Linked DNA regions of Homo sapiens: region 2 is linked to region 1. The links are contacts of gene promoters, found by promoter capture Hi-C in human tissues and cell types (Jung and others, 2019). All regions are on one chromosome and are shown on one strand. The core of a region is centred on a gene start or on the middle of the fragment in contact, and the rest is flanking DNA. Distances in the headings are between cores, read along the strand shown.

What was found. The method cuts DNA at HindIII sites, captures the fragments that hold promoters and counts their contacts. A contact is called where the count stands out against the background at its distance.
Region 2: a fragment that was not itself captured here is called in contact with the fragment with the promoter of ENO4 in region 1 in 3 of the 25 tissues and cell types used here (IMR-90 fibroblasts, dorsolateral prefrontal cortex and hippocampus).

What each region holds. Positions count from the first base shown.
Region 1 is chr10:116,848,249-116,852,721 of GRCh38, reverse strand. It overlaps ENO4 (enolase 4), which reads right to left and starts at 3,223. Exons shown (of 14, transcript NM_001242699.2): 1 at 2,991-3,223. The coding sequence starts at 3,155. It also overlaps a transcript of HSPA12A not described here. RefSeq lists an enhancer at 4,407-4,473. The HindIII fragment of the contact is 11,920 bases long and covers 1-4,473 here.
Region 2 is chr10:117,007,886-117,013,039 of GRCh38, reverse strand. It overlaps a transcript of SHTN1 not described here. Among named protein-coding and RNA genes, the nearest start is that of SHTN1, 5.3 kb to the right of the region's middle. The HindIII fragment of the contact is 7,810 bases long and covers 1-5,154 here.

The DNA of each region.
Region 1 (4,473 bases), core at 1,974-4,473:
TTCTCTACACAACCTCACTCTTTCCAGTAGGGTAATTGGGACATCCTCACAGCATGATGACTAGATTCCAAGAGGACAAGCTTCCATATGCCAGCACTGATCAACTCTCTGTTTGTATCGTGTTTGTCAAGGTCCTATTGATCAAAGTAAGTGACATAGCCAATTCCAGAGTCAGTGTGGGAGGGACTTACAAAAAGGTGTTCACACTGGAAGTGTAGTTTCTTGGAGGACCATCAGTGTAACTCTATCACAGTGAGGAAGTGGCAGAGATAAGAATCAAAACCAGATCTGCCACATTCCCAGTCCAAAACTCTCTCATTCAGTTTTATGATGATGGAATAAATTGTATTGTTATTGCCTACAAGGATCTTTACCATGTGTGAATTCCTCTAATATGTCTGTCTTAGTTTGTTCTCACACTGCTATCAAGGACTGCCTGAGACTGGGTAATTTATAAAGGAAAGAGGTTTAATTGACTCACAGTTCTGCACAGCTGCAGAGGCCTCAGGAAACTTACAATCATGGTGGAGGGAGAAGCAAACACATCCTTCTTCACATGAGGGCGGGAAGGAGAAGTGCAAAGTGAAGCGGGGAAGCCCCTTATAAAACCATCAGCTCTCATGAGAAGTCACTATCACGAGAACAGCATGAGAGTAACCACCCCCATAATTTAATTACCTCCCACCCGGTCCCTCCCCACATGTCATATGTGGGGATTATGAGCAGTACAATTCAAGATGAGGTTTGGGAGGGGATAGAGCCAAGCCATATCAATGTTGGAGAGGGACAGAAGAAATGACATTGGAGCTGAACACTGGAGGAGGTATAGTGTTTCAGTGCCAGTCAAGGGGGAGATGTGGTGAGCAGATATTTCAGGGAGAGAGAATGGGACAAGCAAAGAGGAGGGAGGTAGGAAACTTCTGGCTTTGGGGAACAGTCAGTGATTCGGTGTAGAGGAGGAGGGCAGGGAGTGGGAGATGCGCCTGTTACCAGAGGGAGGGGCTGAGCACTGTGAACCACACACATGAAGGCCAGCAAGCACGGGAAAGCCACAGGAGGTTCTGAGGAAGAGAAGTGTGGTCAGACTTGCATGTTAGGACACTGCTCTGGCAGCATTCTGCAGGATGAACTAGATAGAGGGAGAGACGAGGTGAGAGTAAGCACGGCCAAAACTAGGGCAGTTACTAAGAAAAGGAAAAGGAGATTGCTTTTTTCTGTTTTTCTTTTTGAGACGGAGTCTCGCTCTGTTGCCGAGGCTGGAGTGCAGTGGTGCAATCTCGGCTCACTGCAACCTCCGATTCCCAGGTTCAAGGAGTTTGCTTTTTTGCCTCTGCAATTCCTGAACATCCTTCGAAGTCCAAGCCAAAGCCTTCCTGGATATACAGCCTCCAAGGATCTTTTCCATCCCTGAATTCCTTTAATAGGCATATAGGGATCTGCCCCTCAATCTAGCACACAGTCATCTATCACCTTATCTTTTGCTCCAATTATTTTATGTATTAGTGACTTTTGTCCCAAACTAAGATGTAAGTTCCCAGAGAGCTGTACAAACGAATATCCTGGCTGCCTAATAGAATAAGAAGATCATTATACTGGGGAACAAGAGTCCATGTTTTTAGTCCTAGCTTGTACACTAAGTAGCTGTGAGACAAAGACTTGGTGTCCCTGTAAAATGAGGACGTTAGAATAGATTGTGTTCAAGAATTCCTCTAGCAACAGATAGTAGGAAGAGAATGGAATGAGAGTCAAGCATTCACTCATTCATCCTGCAGGTAGTTTCTCAGCATCCACTGTGTGCCATGCACTCTGCTGGGTACTAGGGACACAAATGTGGTTTGATTTTTTTTCTTCTGTCACTATGTCCTTTGGGAAAATCATTTAAATTGCACTGGCCACAGGTTCTTTATTTGTAAAATGGGAATCATCATTTTTACCTCGTCGCAGTGGTACTGAGGATTGAGTTACAGTACGCAGCACAAGGGGCTCAGTAAACCCCACACCTCTCCCCTTTGATAGTATAGGCCATGAGTGGGAAAAAGTCATTCGCGGAACATCCTTTATATCAACTGCCTCAATACGACGTGGTTTTGCACCCTGACAGCACATCTGCCTCTTCATAGGACTCCTTCTGCTTGGTGTTCACATTGCCTCCTTGCTTTGCCTTGCCATAGTGCAAACTCCTAGGGGCCCCAGCCACACTGCCTTCCTTACTACTTATAGATCTGGAAGGGAGAAAACGTCTTTGCTTCAGCTGCTCACTGCTTAACGCTAAGGTATGTGCCAGATCTCAGGGCTGGGCAGAGACCCGGAAGGTGAGAAGACAAGGCTTCTGAGCCCAGCAGGGGCTCACAGGCTGCCTAGGGAGGCTGCCTCAAGAGACTACAATACACGAAGGAAATGCTGTAGGAACCCAGAAGGACGGTTGGTCCAGGGCTACGTGGGCAAGGCTTTGGTCTGAATTTTGGAGTTTAGGGCGGGGCTGGTCAGATATTAACTGGCATCCCGGCAGAGGAGCCAGTAGGATGAGGCCCCAGAATAGGCTGAAGCCAAGTTGTAGCAAACGCCAAGGTGTTCATCCTGTGATCAAAGAGGAGCTGCTTAAGGTCGGTGAGCTGAGCTGAGGGCATTAAGGTATGTGTTAAAAATGACAATTGGCAAGCATGGGCGGTGGGCCGGCCCACAAACGGAGAGGCCTCTTAGGCAGCGAGGAAGCCTGCCAGCCCCTGGGCTGCCGCTGCAGGTCAAATACGCCTAGCGCCCTCTTTCCTCCAGCTGCCTCCTTTCTGCCACTTTCTCTGGGGAGATCCCTTCACCCCTGGGTGTCCTTCCCGCTCCTTCCCTCCAGAAGTCTCCTCCGCACACGCAGGCCCAGGGCCCGGGCGGCTGGCATGCGAGATTCTGAGGCGCAGGCGCAGGCGCAAGGCGTTGCCGCAGCGCGGGGCGGGGGGAGAGGGGTTGGCGGGAGGAGAGCGCTTGTCCCAGGTCCCTACCAGGTGCCCGTAGACGTCGGCAGGCTGGAGGTAGAAGGTGGAGTTGAGCAGCTCTTCCAGCCTGCGCGGAACGTCGTTCTCCCGGTAGTACTCCATCGCCTGCTGCTTCAGCTTCTGCAGCTCCCTAGTGGTCCCACAGCTGCGGCCGCCGCCTTCTTCCTCCATGGTAGGAGATTTAAGGCTACAGCGGGGTTTAGCCTGGGGTCCCACGAGCGTCCCTGCTGTCGCTAGGCAACGCAACGTGATCCCGACCCCCAGATCTCGCGTGGCTTCCAGGCCTAGGTTCTTCCTGCGGTAAAAGTCGTTCCCTTTTATTGGAGCTAGGATGGTATTTGCGCTCGCTGCTCTGTCTTTTCTCCCTGCGGCATTAGGTCCGGGGGTTGGGCTCCTCCTAGACTCCCGAGACTAGGGCCCTCCCGGCTTCGTTTTTCACCACTTTTCCCTGGCGATTTTCCAGAGGGGGAAATCTTTAACGACCTCATCAAGCGCGTTTTGCCGGAGCGCGGCAGCCTTAGCTCCGAATTCCGGCTGGGGTCGCGCGCTCGGGTCCCAGTGGCCCAGCGTCTTGGGCCACCCCGCCCTCCCCACGCGCCCCCTTGCTCTCTGCTGTTAGTGAGCTCCTCCGGGTTGCTAAGGCCGCCCGTGCCAGGCAGGCCCACTCTGTTGGGGGAGGGATGTAGGGGCTCAGGGCATCCTTACTGAGCGGTGGCGATCTCAGGAATTCTTTCATTCGGCTCATGTTTATTAACTACCTGCTCTGAGCCGAGCCGTGTGCTGGCTGGGCCTGCTATGATGTCCAGGAGAGAAACGGCCACTTGCCCTTCTCTGGGATATTAGTGGGGGTGAAATCAATGGAATGAAAAAAACCAGTGTGGGTTGAAAATATCTGGGGTGAACCCTAAGGGATGGTTGTGGTTTGGGCAGACCTAAGGATGGGGGATGATTCAGGCAGGACTTGGGGAGGTAAAACGGAAATGGGGGAATGGCCTTGGCTCACGTTCCCTCTCCAGAATGCTGCCTATGTCCTTGCCCTTTTCAATCCGAAGTGCCTTCCTGGCTTCATTGTACCTGCCAGGTATCATGCGATTACAGAACTTAGTGTGCGTCCTCAGTTCTAGATACTTCCTCTGCTGCAGGAGTGGGCGGCGACGGACAGGGTGTTCTTGTTCCACTCACGCCTGTTTATGTTTCCTACCTAAGCAGATCAGTTACAAGATCTGTGCCACACTTTCCCCCCTCTGGAAAACATCATCTTACCTCCTCTGCCTGTTTCCCGAGTCACTTAGTACAAAATGAGGAAGTGAGTGAGAAAGCACTTTGAAACACAGTTATTTTCAATACATGCACGTATGGGTGCAGATGCATAAAAATGTGATGCTATAAGTACTGTTACACAAACCCAGACATGCACCTTCCAAACTTCCTCCGTGTTCTCTCTGCTCTCTTACGGAACGTCTCACTGTCTGTGTGTAATGGACCATCA
Region 2 (5,154 bases), core at 2,202-4,701, 160 kb before region 1:
GGAATGCAGTGGTTCACTGCAGCCTTAAACTTCTAGGCTCAAAATCCTCCAGCTCAGCCTTCTGAAGAGCTGAAATTACAGGCACAAGCCACTACATTGGCTCTTATTGTTGGAGTTTTAAGAGTACTTTAAATATTTAGAATACAAAATATTAATATGTGATTTATTTAATGTGTGATACAAAATATTAATATGTGATTTTTAAAATGTGAATTAATATGTAATTTGTAAATATTTTCCCTCATCTATGGCAGGTATTGTTAATCTGTTTCTTTTATCTTTCATAAAATCTAATTTATCAATTCTTTTATTGATTACGCTTTTGGCATCGTATTTAAAAACTAATTGCCAGACTTTAGGTTACACGGTTTTTTCTCTTGTGTCTCATTTTTAAAGTTTTACTGTTTCAGGTTTTACATTTTGGTCTATTATCCATTTTGAGTTAATTTTTCTATGAGGCATGTGTTGCGGCTCCTTTTTATAAAAAAAAGAAAGGATGTCCAGTTGATCTAGCACCAAGTTTTGAAAAGACTTTTTTTTTCCCATTGAATTGGTTTTGTTACTTTGCAGAAAAAAAGTGATTCACTATATTTGTGTGGATCAACTTTTGGGATGGTTAATGCATCTTCCTTTTGCCAATACTACATTGTCTTAATTATTGTAGCTTTATAGTTAGTCTTGGAAATCAGGTAGCGTGAGTCCTCCAACTTTGTTCTTATTCAGAATTGTTTTGGCTATTCTAGTTTTTGTTTTGTTTTGTTTTTTGCCTTTCCATAATACATTTTATGATCAGCTTGGATTTGGATTGGGATTGCATTGGATCTATAGGTTAAATTTGGAAGAATTGACATTTTAGCAATATTGAGGGTTTTTTTTCCTTTTTCTCTTTTTTTTTTTTTTTGAGATGGAGTCTCATTCTGTCGCCCAGGCTGGAATGCAGTGGCGCGATCTCGGCTCACTGCAAGCTCCACCTCCCGGGTTCACGCCATTCTCCTGCCTCAGCCTCCGGAGTAGCTGGGACTACAGGCCCCGCCACCACGCCTGGCTAATTTTTTGTATTTTTATTAGAGACAGGGTTTCACCGTGTTAGCCAGGATTGTCTCGATCTCCTGACTTCGTGATCCGCCCTCCTCGGCCTCCCAAAGTGCTGGGATTACAGGCGTGAGCCACCGCGCCCCGCCTGAGTTTTCTAATTCATGAACATAATATATCTCTCCATTTATTTAGATACTCTTTGATTTTTTTCATCAGCATTTTATACTTTTTGGCATCTAGATCTTTCACATATTTTGCTAGATTTATACCTAAGTGCTTCAGTATTTTTAGTGCTATTGTAAATGTTATTAATTTTTAATGTCAAATTCTAATTGTTCATTGCTGGTGTATGGAATACAGTTGACTTTTGCATTTGTCTAATGACTAATGATGTTGAGCATCTTTTCAAGGGCTTATTGACCTTGTATCCTGTAACCTCACTAAACTCAAGTATTTGTTTTAGAAGCATTTAAAGAAATTCTTTGGTATTTTCCACATAGGAAATTTTGCCATCTATGAATAGAGATGGTACTGGCATAAGGACAGACATATTGACTAATAGAATAAAATAGAGAGCCCCAAAATAAATCCTCATGTATATCACCAGTTGATTTTCAACAAGGGTACCAAGACCACTCAATGGGGAAAGGACAGCCATTTAACAAGTGGTATTGGGAAAAGTAGATATCCACATGCAAAAGACTGAAGTTGGTATGAAGGTAGAAAAGGCCTAACAAAAATTAACTAAAAATGGACCAAAGACCTAAACTTAAGAGCTAAATTCAGCTAAAACTACTGAATTCATCTATTAGCTCTAGTAGCTTTTTCACAGATTATTTGGGATTTTCTCTATATAGCTATATGTCATATGTGAATAGAGATAGCTTTACGTCCTCCTTTCCAACTTGGATGCCTTTTCTTTCTTTTTCTTGTCTAATTGAACTTGCAGCACACTGTTGAATAGCAGTGATGAAAGCACATATTCTTGTCTCGTTCCTAATTTCAGGGGGAAAGCTTTCAGTCTTTCACCATTGACCATGATTATAGCTGTGGCTTCTTTACAGATGCCCTTTATCATGGTGAGGATGTTCCATCTATTACTGGTTTGCTAAGAGTTTTTATGGTGAAACGATGCTGACTTTTGTCAAATGCCTTTTCTGTCTCAATTGAGATGATCACCTGGTTTTTTTCCTATTAATGTGACATATTACATTGATTGATTTTCTTATGTTGAACCACTTTTGCATTCCTGGAATAAGTACTACCTGGTCGTGGTGTATAATCCTTTTAATGTGTTGTTGGATTTGGTTTGTTAGTATTTTGTTGAGGATTTTTGCAACCATATTCATAAGAGAAATTGGTGTGTACATTTCTTTTCTTTGTGATATCCTTATCTGGCTTTGGTATCACAGAAATGCTGGCCTCATAGAATGAGTTAGGAAGTGTTCTCTCCTTTTTTGTGTTTTAGAAAAGTTTGAGAAAGACTGGTGTTAATTCTTTAAATGTTTGATAGAATTCACCAGGAAAGACATCTGGGCCTGAACTTATTTTCATTGAAGGGTGTCTTTCTTTTCTTTTCTTTTCTTTTTTTAATACTTTCTGAATTACTCTACTTATAATAGTTCTGCTGAAATTTTCTTTTTCAGTTAGTTTAGGTGACTTGTGTGTTTCTGGGAATTTGTCCATTTCTTCTAGGTTATTTAATTTGTTGACATATAATTGTTCTTATTATTCTCTTAGAATCCTTTTTATTTCTGAATCATTGGTATTACTGTCCCCATTTTAATATCTGATTTTCATATTTCTTTTTTTTCTTCGTTAATTTAGGGAAAGGATTGTCAATTTTGATACTTTCAAAGAAATAGCTTTTTATTAATTCTATTATTTTTCTATTGTCTTTTATTTTATCTCCACTCTAATCTTCATTATTTTATTCCTTCTGCTAACTTTAGGTTTATTTTGCTTGTCTATTTTCTCAAGGTGTACAGTTACCTTATTGATTTTGTATCTTTCTTTTATAATGTAGTAATTAGAACTATAAATTTCTCTCTGAGCACTGTCTTCACGGTATTCCATAAGTTTTTTTTTTCTTTTCCTTTTTTTTGAGACAGTCTCACTCTGTCGCCCAGGCTGGAGTGCAGTGGCGCGATCTCGGCTCATTGCAAGCTCCGCCTTCCGGGTTCATGCCATTCTCCTGCCTCAGCCTCCCAGTAGCTGGGACTACAGGCGCCCGCCACCACGCCCGGCTAATTTTTTGTATTTTTAGTAGAGACGGGGTTTCACAGTGTTAGCCAGGATGGTCTCAATCTCCTGACCTCGTGATCTGCCCGTCTCGGCCTCCCAAAGTGCTGGGATTACGGGCTTGAGCCACCGTGCCCAGCTTGTATATATGTTTATAGTAATTATATATTCTTACCGAATCAACCCTTTTGTGAATATAGACTTTTGTTTATTGTAACAGTTTTTGACTTAAAGTCTGTTTTGTCTGATATTAATATAACCACCCCAACTCTCTTTTGGTTACTAATTAAATTTTTTCCTACCATTTTGCTTTAAATCTATTGTTGTCTTTGGATCTAAAATAAATATTTTGTAGACATCATATAGTTAGATCATACTTTTTTTTGCATCCTGCCAGTGTTTGCCTTTTGGAGAGTTTAAGCCATCTTCATTTAAAGTTACAGTTAATAAGAAATGACTTATTTCTGCAATTTTGCTATGTATTATCTATATGTCTTATAGCTCTTTTGCTCTTCATTTGCTTCATTATTGCCTTATTTTATACTTAGTTTTTAAAAAAATGTGTATGTTTTTGGTAATCATTTTGACTTCTTTCTCCTTTCCTTTTGTGCATATTTGGTTGATATTTTCTTTTCTTTTCTTTTTTTTGAGACAGAATTTTGCTCTTGTTGCCCAGGCTGGAGTGCAATGGCACGATCTCGGCTCATTGCAACCTCCTCCTCCTGAGTTCAAGTGATTCTCCTGCCTCAGCCTCCTGAGTAGCTGGGATTACAGGCATGTGCCACCACGCCCAGCTTATTTTTTATATTTTTAATAGAGATTGGGTTTCTTCATATTGGTCAGGCTGGTCTCAAACTCCTGACCTCCGGTGATCCACCCGCCCTGGCCTCCCAGAGTACTGGGATTACAGGCGTGAGCCACAGCGCCCGGCCAATTCTATAGTTTTGAGTATATTCAGAGAATTGTACAACCATTACCACAATTAATTTTAGAAAATTTGTATTACCCCAACAATTAACCACACACCTATCAGCAGCCATTCCCTGTTTTCTCCCAGACCTCCCCTACTTTCACCCCACCTCAGTAGATACTCACCAATCAACTTTCTCCCTCTATGGATTTGCCTGTTGTGATCATTTTATACAAGTGCAATCATACAATATCTGGTCTTTTCTGATCAAGTTTTCACTGAGTATAATGTTTTCAAATTTCATCTGTGTTGTACCATATATCAGTACTTTATTTTTATTACCAAATAATATTCCAATATTGCCATTTTCATATGATAATTAACATTACATTAAATAGCTCTGTACATAAGCCTTTTAGGATAGATTCCCTGATATAGAATTAGTGGATCAAAGACAGTGAACCTTCTTCTCCTCATTGTATTTCAATCTTATTTATCTGTATACCTCAAAAGATGACATATGTGATTTTACTTTAATTACCTGAAAAATTAAATAAAGATTAAAGAGAAACTCCTTCTTGACCACTGCACTTTCACACTCCAACCCCCACACCTTGGTCCTGTTCCCCTACTTTCTATCCCTAGAGACAGCCATTATCCTGAGTTTGGCACATATTCTTCCAATTCATTTTTTAAAAGTCTGTCCTTTATCTCTATGTATATATTTGTATATATATATGTAAACACACACATTTTTAAGGGTTTTAAATGACCTGTTATTTGGAGGTCAATAGTAACTCCAACGTGATGCCTGCAACATAAATCACTATGTATATTATTATTATTGAGATGGAGTCTCGCTCTGTCACCCAGGCTGGAGTGCAGTGGCATGATCTCGGCTCACTGCAACCTTCGCCTCTCGGGTTCAAGTGATTCTCCTGCCTCAGCCTCCCGAGTAGCTGGGACTA